2 separate regions of the Homo sapiens genome follow, and region 2 is linked to region 1. Evidence: promoter capture Hi-C in 16 types of primary human blood cells and fetal thymus (Javierre and others, 2016). All regions are on one chromosome and are shown on one strand. The core of a region is centred on a gene start or on the middle of the fragment in contact, and the rest is flanking DNA. Distances in the headings are between cores, read along the strand shown.

The links. Contacts are between HindIII fragments. The CHiCAGO score rates a contact against its expected background, and 5 or more counts as called.
Region 2: a contact is called between a fragment that was not itself captured here and the fragment with the promoter of ADAM19 in region 1, in 4 of 17 cell types (naive B cells, total B cells, activated CD4 T cells and 1 more). The highest score is 8.7, in naive B cells.

Annotation. Positions count from the first base shown.
Region 1 is chr5:157,573,358-157,578,126 of GRCh38, forward strand. It overlaps ADAM19 (ADAM metallopeptidase domain 19), which reads right to left and starts at 2,418. Exons shown (of 23, transcript NM_033274.5): 1 at 2,246-2,418. The coding sequence starts at 2,339. LOC124901121 (a long non-coding RNA gene) reads left to right here and starts at 1,622. Exons shown (of 2, transcript XR_007059018.1): 1 at 1,622-2,013; 2 at 2,923-3,253. RefSeq lists enhancers at 1,114-1,643, 1,880-1,959, 3,817-4,432, 4,433-4,769 and a silencer at 2,130-2,569. The HindIII fragment of the contact is 8,826 bases long and covers 1-3,895 here.
Region 2 is chr5:157,656,110-157,660,878 of GRCh38, forward strand. It overlaps LOC105377675 (a long non-coding RNA gene), which reads left to right. Exons shown (of 3, transcript XR_941127.3): 2 at 1,742-1,902; 3 at 2,420-4,769. It also overlaps a transcript of SOX30 not described here. Among named protein-coding and RNA genes, the nearest start is that of SOX30, 6.1 kb to the left of the region's middle. The HindIII fragment of the contact is 8,214 bases long and covers 1-4,769 here.

The sequences.
Region 1 (4,769 bases), core at 1,168-3,667:
CCATTGATTAAAAGCTACACTCTGTGAAGTTATATAATCTATATATATCTATAGAATTCTGTCTGACAGAGATGTAAGTGATTTCAGCATAGTAAAAAGATAACCTGGCCAGGCACAATGGCTCACGCCTGTAATCCTAGCACTTTAGGAGGCCGAGGCGGGCGGATCACCTGAGGTCAGGAATTTGAGACTAGCCTGGCCAACATGGTGAAACCCCGTCTCTACTAAAAATACAAAAACTAGCCGGGTGTGGTGGCACATGCCAATAAGCCCAGCTACTCAGGAGGCTGAGGCAGGAGAATAGCTTGAACCCAGGAAGCAGAGACTGCAGTGAGCCCAGATCGTGCCACTGCATGCCAGCCTGGGCAACAGATAGAGACTCTGAAAAAAAAAAAAAGAAAGAAAAGAAGGAATGAAGGAAGGAAATTAAAAAAGAAAGATAACCAAGAATTATGGTTTGCTTCATGGGGCATCCACCATTTCTGCATCTGCCCTGGGCCACATGATTTCAACATTCTTTCTCCAATGCTTGTATCACCCCTTTCTAATGCTCCCTGAATCAGCTTTACTCTCCTGTTTGCTACCTCATTAATGAGTTGAATAAATCTTGGCCACATTTGTATGAGTCGTGTTTTTAACTTTTGAAAACTTTGTATAGAGTCATTAAAATCATGTTTTACAGAGAATTTGATGATGTGGAAAACGCTCATGGTGTGAAGTGAAAAACGCAAGACACGAAACTGTACTTATGGGTATGGTTCCAATTTTATCAATATATATCCATAGGAACACACAAAGAATGTGGAGGGGAAAAAAAACAAAATATCAACAGCAACTGTGGATTTGGGGGTTGCAGATCATTTTCTTTTACACTTTTCGTTATTTCCCAGATATTCTACAGCAAGTGTTCTCCAAGGACTCAAAACTCAGAGAAGGCGCCTGTGCTAGGAGCAGTAACTAGCTTTCCTTGTCTTTCTTCATGCTTTTCTCCTGCACTAAGCACTGACACAGGCCTGGTGCTACCCTAGAACCTCCTCTGTGCCTCAGTTTCCCCTTCGGAACAACAGCTCAAAGGGCGGTTCCTTTGAGCCCTTTGGGAGGACCGCCCGACCTCGGCCCCTGGAAGTTCCGAACTGTCGGAAGAGCTCTCAGCCTCTGGGTTTGAGGCGGCCCGGGGGTCCAGCCAGCCCACCCTCGCTCCGCCGGTGCTCGCTCTATTTGAAAACGCTGACTGTTGGTCCCCCAAGCAGCAGTCTGGAGTCAGCCCAGCCCGTCTGCAGCGGTGGAGCCAGGGCTAAGCCTTCTCCGGTCATAATGAGAGAACCCGGGCACCGCCCCCCGGGACCAAGCCTTCCGCGAAATCTGCTTATAGCCCCCGAGGGATGGAGCCGGGGAGGGGATTGGTGTCTGGGAAACTAGTCCTGAGAAACACGGACATCACCCGGCATCTTAGCTGGAAACATCGAGTCAGACCCCTTCGCTTCACAGAAGGGGAAACTGAGGACCAAAGAAGGCGGCCGTCGGGTTGGCGTGGAAAGAGAGCCCTGGTTTCCAGTGCCACCGCGGACCTCAACCCGTGGCGTGGCCTTGGGCAAGTCCTTTCCCTTTTGTGGGCCTCGGTTTCCCCATCTGTGAAATGGGTGCGTTTGACTTGGCCTTCAGTAGGGCTCCTGCCAGCTCGGGGATCCGAAGTGTGTGGCTGCAGATACCCAGCGAGCCATCCCCTAGCCAAGGCTACCACAGTCTGCCGCGGGCATTTTATGTCCTACCCCACCAGTGTGGCAGGCACCGAGCCTGGTCCCAGGAAGCCGCTCCCAGGCCACACGGGCAGGGCGCTCGGGATGCTCGGCGTTGGCGAGTGCAGCGGGCGGTAGAGAGAAAGACAGAGAGAGAGGCGGAGCGGACACGAGGGACCGTGAGAAAACGGAGGAGGATAAGCCCCGAGAACGGCGGAAAGAGAAGCCAAAAGCAGAAAAACAGAGGAAGGAGAAGGCGAGAAGGGAAGGCTAGCCAGTGAGCGGACCGGCTGTTTTCTGGCTGCGCCGGGTTTCCCCGACCTCTGCCACCTCCCAGGGCGCAGAACGTGGGAACAAAGCCCGGGCTCCCAGGCTGGGGACGGCGGGGGCGCAGGCCCCGCGGAGTTGCGGGAGGCGCAGGGGTCGCGGTCCCAGCGCTCCGGACCCGCAAGGCTACTCCCAGGTCTCCGGGCCACCCAGCCTCCATCCCCCCGCGCCTGGCCACTTACTTGTCCATCCAGGCTCCCGCGCCGCCCGCGGCCGGAGGGGCTGCAGGGCAAACGCCAGCAAGCAGAGCCGGGCGGCGCCTGCGCCCCCTGGCATGGTGGCGGCGGCCCTTAGCGCTCGGCGCTCACACGCCCTCAGCCATACCTGCCCACTGCCCGGCGGTGGAGGCGCGTCTGGAACCCCCCGGCTCGCCCCGCGCCTCCCCACCCGGCTCCCAGCCCTCTGCCGAGACGCTCCGCCTCCAGCCCCGCGGGCCTCCGCCAGGGGATGGAGGAGGGGAGGCTCCAGCCCGGAGGGGGCTGGAGGGAGGGGCCGGGGAGGAGCTGGCGAGACTCGGGGGAGCGGGGCTGGCTCAGGTGAGGGAGACCGCGGGGAAGGGAGAATCCGAGCCCCCCAGGAGGAGGGATTTGTGGTGGACGCGGCCTGTAGAGGGTCGGGGACTCGGGCTTCTAGGAGTTAAACTGGACCCCTCTCCGCACAGCGGCCCGTTTACTGTCCCGCACTGTGCCAGACGCCTTGGGTGACACTCAGAGGTGATTCACCCAGCGCCGTCCCCCGGGGGCCGCCACTCTCGGAGACAGGCTCAGAAAGAGTTAACCCAACCGCCAGGCACAAAGAACTAAGTGCTATATGGACTTCTTTTTTTTTTTTTTTTTTTTTTTTTTTTTTTTTTTTTAAGCAGGACACAAATCCAGGAGCCATTCCTTCTGCCTGGGAGGAGGGAGTGATGAAGACCAGAGGAATCCCAGAGGAGAAGCCATCTGAGATCGGGAGGAGGAGAAATGGAACATCAGGCGGAGGAAACAGCCCAGACAATCGCACTGGGACGTGAAAACCCTTGGGCTGCATGCGGGGAGAAAACCAGAATTGGGGATGGTTAGGGTTTTGGAGGGAAACACAGGGACATGTGACCAAAAATAATAATAACTACTGTTACTTATTGAGGACTTTCTATGTACTAGAATAAGAAAATCATGATAGCTAAGACTGATAAAACGCTAAGTGTCAAACGCTGTCTTCAGCACTTTACACATATTCACTTATTTAATTAATCGGAGAAAATAACTTTTATGAGCCAGGGACTCTGCATACATTATCTCTTTTCATTAGCCCAGTAATCCCATGGGGTAGGTACTAGTACTATCCCTGTTTTAGAAATGAGGAAATCAAACCTGAGAGGCTAAACCACTTGCCCAAGATTACACAGCTAATGTCAGTGCCTAGATTCAAACCCACATCCGTATAACTCCAGAGCCTGATGCAACACACCTTATTTTCCAGGTGGAGAAACTGATAATGAGAGAGAAATGACTTGCCTAAGATCCCTCAGCAAGTTTTAGCAAAGCCTCGTTGTAGAATCCCAGCCTCAAACCTCGTCCATCTGTTCCTTTTTCTGAGCCTCTTTAGTCAAACCCAGGTTGACTAGAGAAGTGCTAAGTGTTGGAGAGGGCGAGGCACTCCTGAAGATGATGGGTAGGTAGGTCTATCAAACCCTACTCATGGGCACCCATGAGGGAAATCAAATAAGTGGTTCTGGCCATTAATGTCGTTTGGGACTCCGTTAGTCTCCAGCTGCTGTAAAATTCGTATCTTTCTGTGAACCCGAAATATCTGAGATAGGTCTCAGTCAATTTAGAAGGTTAATTTTGCCAAGCTTAAGAACGTGCTCATGACACAGCCTCAGGAGGTCCCAACATGTGCCCAGGGTGGTGGGGGTGTAGCCTCCTTTTATATATTTTGGGGAGACATGAGACATCAATCAATATGTGTAGGATGTACATTGCTTCCGGTCCGGTAAGGCAAGACAACTCCAAGCTGCAGAAAGGGTGGTGCTTCCAGGTTATAAGTAGATAAGAAACAGAAGAGGTTACATTCTTTTGAGTCCTTGATCAACCTTCCACTGAATACACAATTTAGTCTAGCTCAGTGAATCTACATTTTTACATAAACAATAGGGCAGAAGAAGCAATCAGATATGCATTTGTTTCCGGTGAGCCTCAGAGGGATGGCTTTAAATTCTGTCTGTCCTTTGTCCACAAGGAATTTCCTTGTGTGAAAATTGTGAGGAAGGTATGTAGCTGTTTCTCTTTGTAGCTATCTTATTTAAGAATAGGATGGTGGCCTGGCATTGTGGCTTAGGCCTGTAATCCCAGCACTTTGGGAGGCCAAGGCGGGCAGATCACCTGAGGTCAGGAATTCGAGACCAGTCTGACCAATGTGGCGAAACCCTGTCTCTACTAAAAATACAAAAAAAATTAGCCAGGCGTGGTGGCACACCTGTAATCCCAGCTACTCAGGAGGCTGAGGCAGGAGATCGCTTAAACCTCGGAAGGGGAGGTTGCAGTGAGCCAAGATCACGCCACTGCACTCCAGCCTGGGCGACAGAGTGAGACTCTATTTCAAAAAAAAAAAAAAAAAGAAGAAAAGAATAAAATGGGGGACAGGTTTGCCTGACATTGTTCCCAGCTTGACTTTTTCCTTGGCTTAGTGATTTGGGAGTCCTAAGATTTATTTTCCTTTCACACT
Region 2 (4,769 bases), core at 949-3,448, 83 kb after region 1:
AATTCCCATCTTAGGAGATGAGTCCTTTATCTTTTGTCTGTGTATTTATGTGTATCATGTGTGTGGTGCTTGTATATAACAGAGGTTTGATTAATCGGTTAAAAATAATAAGTGCTTCAGTCATATTTTTGTGAGAAAAATTAAACATATAATGCCTTTTATATAGTTCATGTGACTTAAGTAATCTTTGGGAAATGAAGACAGTTTTAAAGATTATTGGTAAAATAAAAATATCTTAAAATGTAAACATTTGGTCTAAATTATGCAGGTCAGATATTAGGTTTGCTAAATGCTTTAAGTTCATAAGCTGCTGCTTTCACTTTTGAAAATTGTTTAATTTACCTACTTTGACCATATTAGAGTCTAGATAAGGCCTGGGGACATGTGATGTTAGCCATACCCCAAGCAATGCTAGAAAAAGTCAGACCTTATCTGCACTTCTGTCTGTGTCCTAGGCTGCACACCTAGTACATAATTAAAATGCTTACCAACCAGGGTTTTCACCAAAAGTAAAAATCGCTGAAAGTTAACATTGTAACATGTAATTGAGACTACTGAAGAATAGTTCTACACATAAGGTGTGTAAGGAAAGTGAAATGTGTTTTTGGTAAAAGATCATTAGAAGTCATGAGAATGTAAATTTTCTTCCTTAGATTAAATGGTTAAATTATTGTTTTAAGTTAGATAGAATGAAGCTGAAGGTTTAAGAAAGTTTTGGAAAGTGTGAAAAATTAATTGTAGGACATTCTGTGTGTGAATATATTAGTTAAAGTTAAAGGGGTATTCAGTTTTTCTATAAATTAAACATTGGAATAAAAGCACAAGTTTTTTTAGAGCAAAAACCTGCTATGATTTGCTCTTTAACAAAAATATGTAAAGGGTTATAAAAGGTTTGTGAGAATCTTACCTTATAGTCAAACTGATTAAGATTGAATACATTTGTCTATAAGGTTTTATAAAGAATTGGGTTTGTCATCAATAATGCACTAATGCAAGAGTCACATTTGGCTTATTTGGTACAAAAACCACACAGGAAGCATTATCAAATGTAAAATGGTGTTTGGATTTTTGGGGGCTGTAATTGTATAAATGTATTATTGGTATATATTGAAAATTATTTTTAAAAGTCTTATAATTCTGATATGACTTGGTGTATATTGTGAATAATTATAATTGTTACATAAAATCATTGTATACCACAGAAGGAAGCAAATTTCCTTATCAATTGAGACTTTAATAGTGGCTGTCCTAAGACTTTTTGTCATCCACACACAATTGTTGTCTTTTAATCCTCTTCAAAAGTTGGTTTATAATCAACTGTAGAACTCTAACAGGTGTTCTTAAATGCAGATTTCTGATAACTTTGGAAATTGTGATATTAAAATAAAGGAAAACACTTTCAGAATACTCATGGAGAGCTGAAATGTTCAGGAATATCAAGCAGAACAGAAGTTAACTGCATTGACTGAACTAATAGAAGACTAAAGTAATCATTTTAACTTTGCTTAAAATGCTGCTGATCCTTTGTTTTGTTTTTCAGAGTCAAGGAAACTTATCTTTTGAGCTATTTGCAGCTTGTAGCAATTGAGTAAAGTATATTGCTGTGAATAACATTTGAAGCATATTTAGTTCTCTCTACCTAATTTCTCCAGAATGTGGAAACTATTTGTGAGTATTCTTACATTATGGCAATATAGTTATTTGCATAAGTGCAATAAGAACCTCTTTTCTTTTGCAACAGGACACAATTGGAAACAGTGGTTATTTTACCAACGCTTTGACTGGAATGGCACGTTTTCCTTTAAGGAATCAAACTTGACTTGTAAAGCCAATAAAAGCCCCTTGGGGAATTGGCCTCAGACCTTGTCTACAACAGCCCCTGTACAGGGTTTCTGACCTGTGGTAAGTAAAGAATGTCACTTTCTACAGGTCCAGGATCCCCAGGTTATCTTGGGACCCCAAGAGGAGGGGAATTTACTCATCTCATAGGTATTTGAGGGTACAAACCTATGGCAGGGCTCAGCTCTGAAAAAGTCTTATCTGAGATTCTTTCTATGGAATAAAGTTGCATCAAAACCAATTTAAAAAGTGGTTATGTAAAAAATAATTATTCTCATTGCACTTTATACAACTAATCAGGCCAATTATAGTAAAGCAAATCAGTCTTACCGTGATTTGTCTTTAGTAAAAATGGGAAACTGGAGAGAGAAATTATGTTTCAGAAACTGTGGTACACTTGTTATTAAATTCTAGTCTCATCAGTTGTTTTTAAGTTTGTTTCTGCAATTTAGGCTAACCCTGCTTATTCCTCTGAACCAACTAGTGACATCTGACTGCTGCTCAGAAGAAACAAGAGGGATGGGTAATGTAAAAATCTAAATCAGTATTCTAATTCTGAGCACACTTATGAATCTTCCAGATATCACCTTTTGTCAAAACTCGGAGTTATGAATTGCCCTCGCCATACTGATGCTTTCTGACTGAGCTCCTCTCTACCCTGAATACAAGAGACTCTCATAGTTAAGCAAGAATATCATTGCTCCTATTCAGCATGAAGAAGTTACAGAAGATGGATTTTCAACCCTCTGCAACCCTTAGGATTAAAATTATACAAACCTTTAGGATTATAAAAGGGAGGGGGTAATGTCAGGCGTGTGAACCAGAGCAACTCCATTTTGAGTAGAAGCTGTGTAAAACGAGGCTGAAACCTACTAGGCTGCATTCCCAGACAGTTAAGGCATTCTAAGTCACAGGATGAGATAGGAGGCTGGCATAAAATACAGGTCATAAACAGCTTGCAGATAAAACAGGTTGCAGTAAAGAAGCTGGCTAAAACCCACCAAAACCTAGATGGTGACAAGAGTCACTTCTTATCATCCTCACTGCTACACTCCCACCAGTGCCATGATAGTTTACAGATGCCATGGCAACATCAGGACATTACCCTATATGGTCTAAAAAGGGATGCATGAATAATTCACCCCTTGTTTAGCATATCATCAAGTACTAACCATAAAAATGGGCAACCAGCACTCTGTCTATGGAGTAGCCATTCTTTTATTGCTTTACTTTCTTAAACGTGCTTTCACTTTACTCTGTGGACTCATCCTGAATTCTTTCTTGTGTGAGATCCAAGAACCTTCTCTTGGGTTCTGGACCTGGACCCCTTTCCTGTAACATCTTTCTGGTGACCCAGATGAGCCTATAGTGCAGATATTCCCAGTAAGTGCTAGGATCCTGTAACGTCTTTCTGGTGACCATGGAATGGTCCCACTATACTGTGGAAACCCCCAACTCAAAGGCTAACTTTGGGTAAGTGGTGGGGTCCAATAAGAAAGTTAGTGTTAATTTTGTGCAAGGTTTCAGTTCATATTCTGATTTCAGTTATCAAAATGTAATTGACAATAGATGCATGGGTGTATTTCTGAACTCTCTGTTCTGTTCCTTCCATTCCTTCCATCTATGTACTATAAACCAAAAGTATCTGAGGCAAGCCTTAATCAATTTAGAAGTTTATTTTGCCAAGGTTAAGGACATCCCCGTGACACAGCCTCAAGAAGTCCTGACAACATGTCACCAAGGTGGTCAGGCTACAGCTTGCTTTTATACATTTTAGGGAGACATAGGACATCATTCAATACTGTAAGATGTACATAGCTTCAGTCCAGAGAGGTGTGACAACTCAAATCAGGGCTTCCAGATCACAGGTGGATTCAAAGATTTTCTGAATGGCAATTGGTTGAAAGACTTATCTAAAGACCTAGAATCAACAGAAGGGAGTGTCTGGGTTAAGATATGGGGTTGTGGATACCAAGGTTCTTATTATGCAGATAAAGCCTCCAGATAGTAGGCTTCAGAGAATATCAGACCTAAAAAGTCTATTCTGTCAGTCTGAAAGTCGCTGTTTCTATGTTAATGCTGGTCAGCTGTGCCTGAATTCCAACGGGAGGAATGTTTAATGAGGCATGTCTGACCACCCATTCCCATTGTAGCCTGAGCTAGTGTTTTAGGTTTACTTTAAAATGCCCTAGCCTGGTGCAGTTGTTCATGCCTGCATTCCCAGCACTTTGGAAGGCTGAGGCAAAAGTATTGCTTGAGTCCAAGAATTTTAGACCGACATGGGCAACGTGGCAAAATCTCGTCTCTACAAAACAATACAAAAATTAGCCAGGTGTGATGGCCTGTGCCTGTAGTCCTAGCTACTCGGGAGGCCGAGGCTGGAGAATTGCTTGAGTTCAGGAAGCAGAGGTTGCAGTGAGCTGAGACTGCACCAGTGCACTCCAGCCTGGGCAACAGAGTGAGACTCTGTCTCAAAAATATAAAATAAAATAAAATAAAATAAAGTAAAGTAAAATAAAATAAAATATAAAATAAAATAATAAAATATAAAAAATATACCCTTGGCCAAAAGGAGGGGTCCATTTCATTGGTTGGGGAATTTAGAATTTTATTTTTGGTTTACAGTATCTCTTTTTTTTTCTTTTGTTACAAATGGGGTTCTTACTCTGTTACCCAGGCTGGATTATAGGCATGAGTCACCGTGCCAAGCTATATACATATTTTTATGCCAGTACCACAGTCTTGATTACTCTAGCTTTATGGTAAATTTTGAAATTTTGAAATCATGTAAGTCCTTGAACTTTGTTCTTTCATTAAATCATATTGGCTTTTCTTGGTCCTTTGGATTTAAAAGATAAATTTTAGGTTCATCATATCAATTTCTTTTAAAGCAAACCCTAATGGTATTTAGATAGAAATTATATTGAATC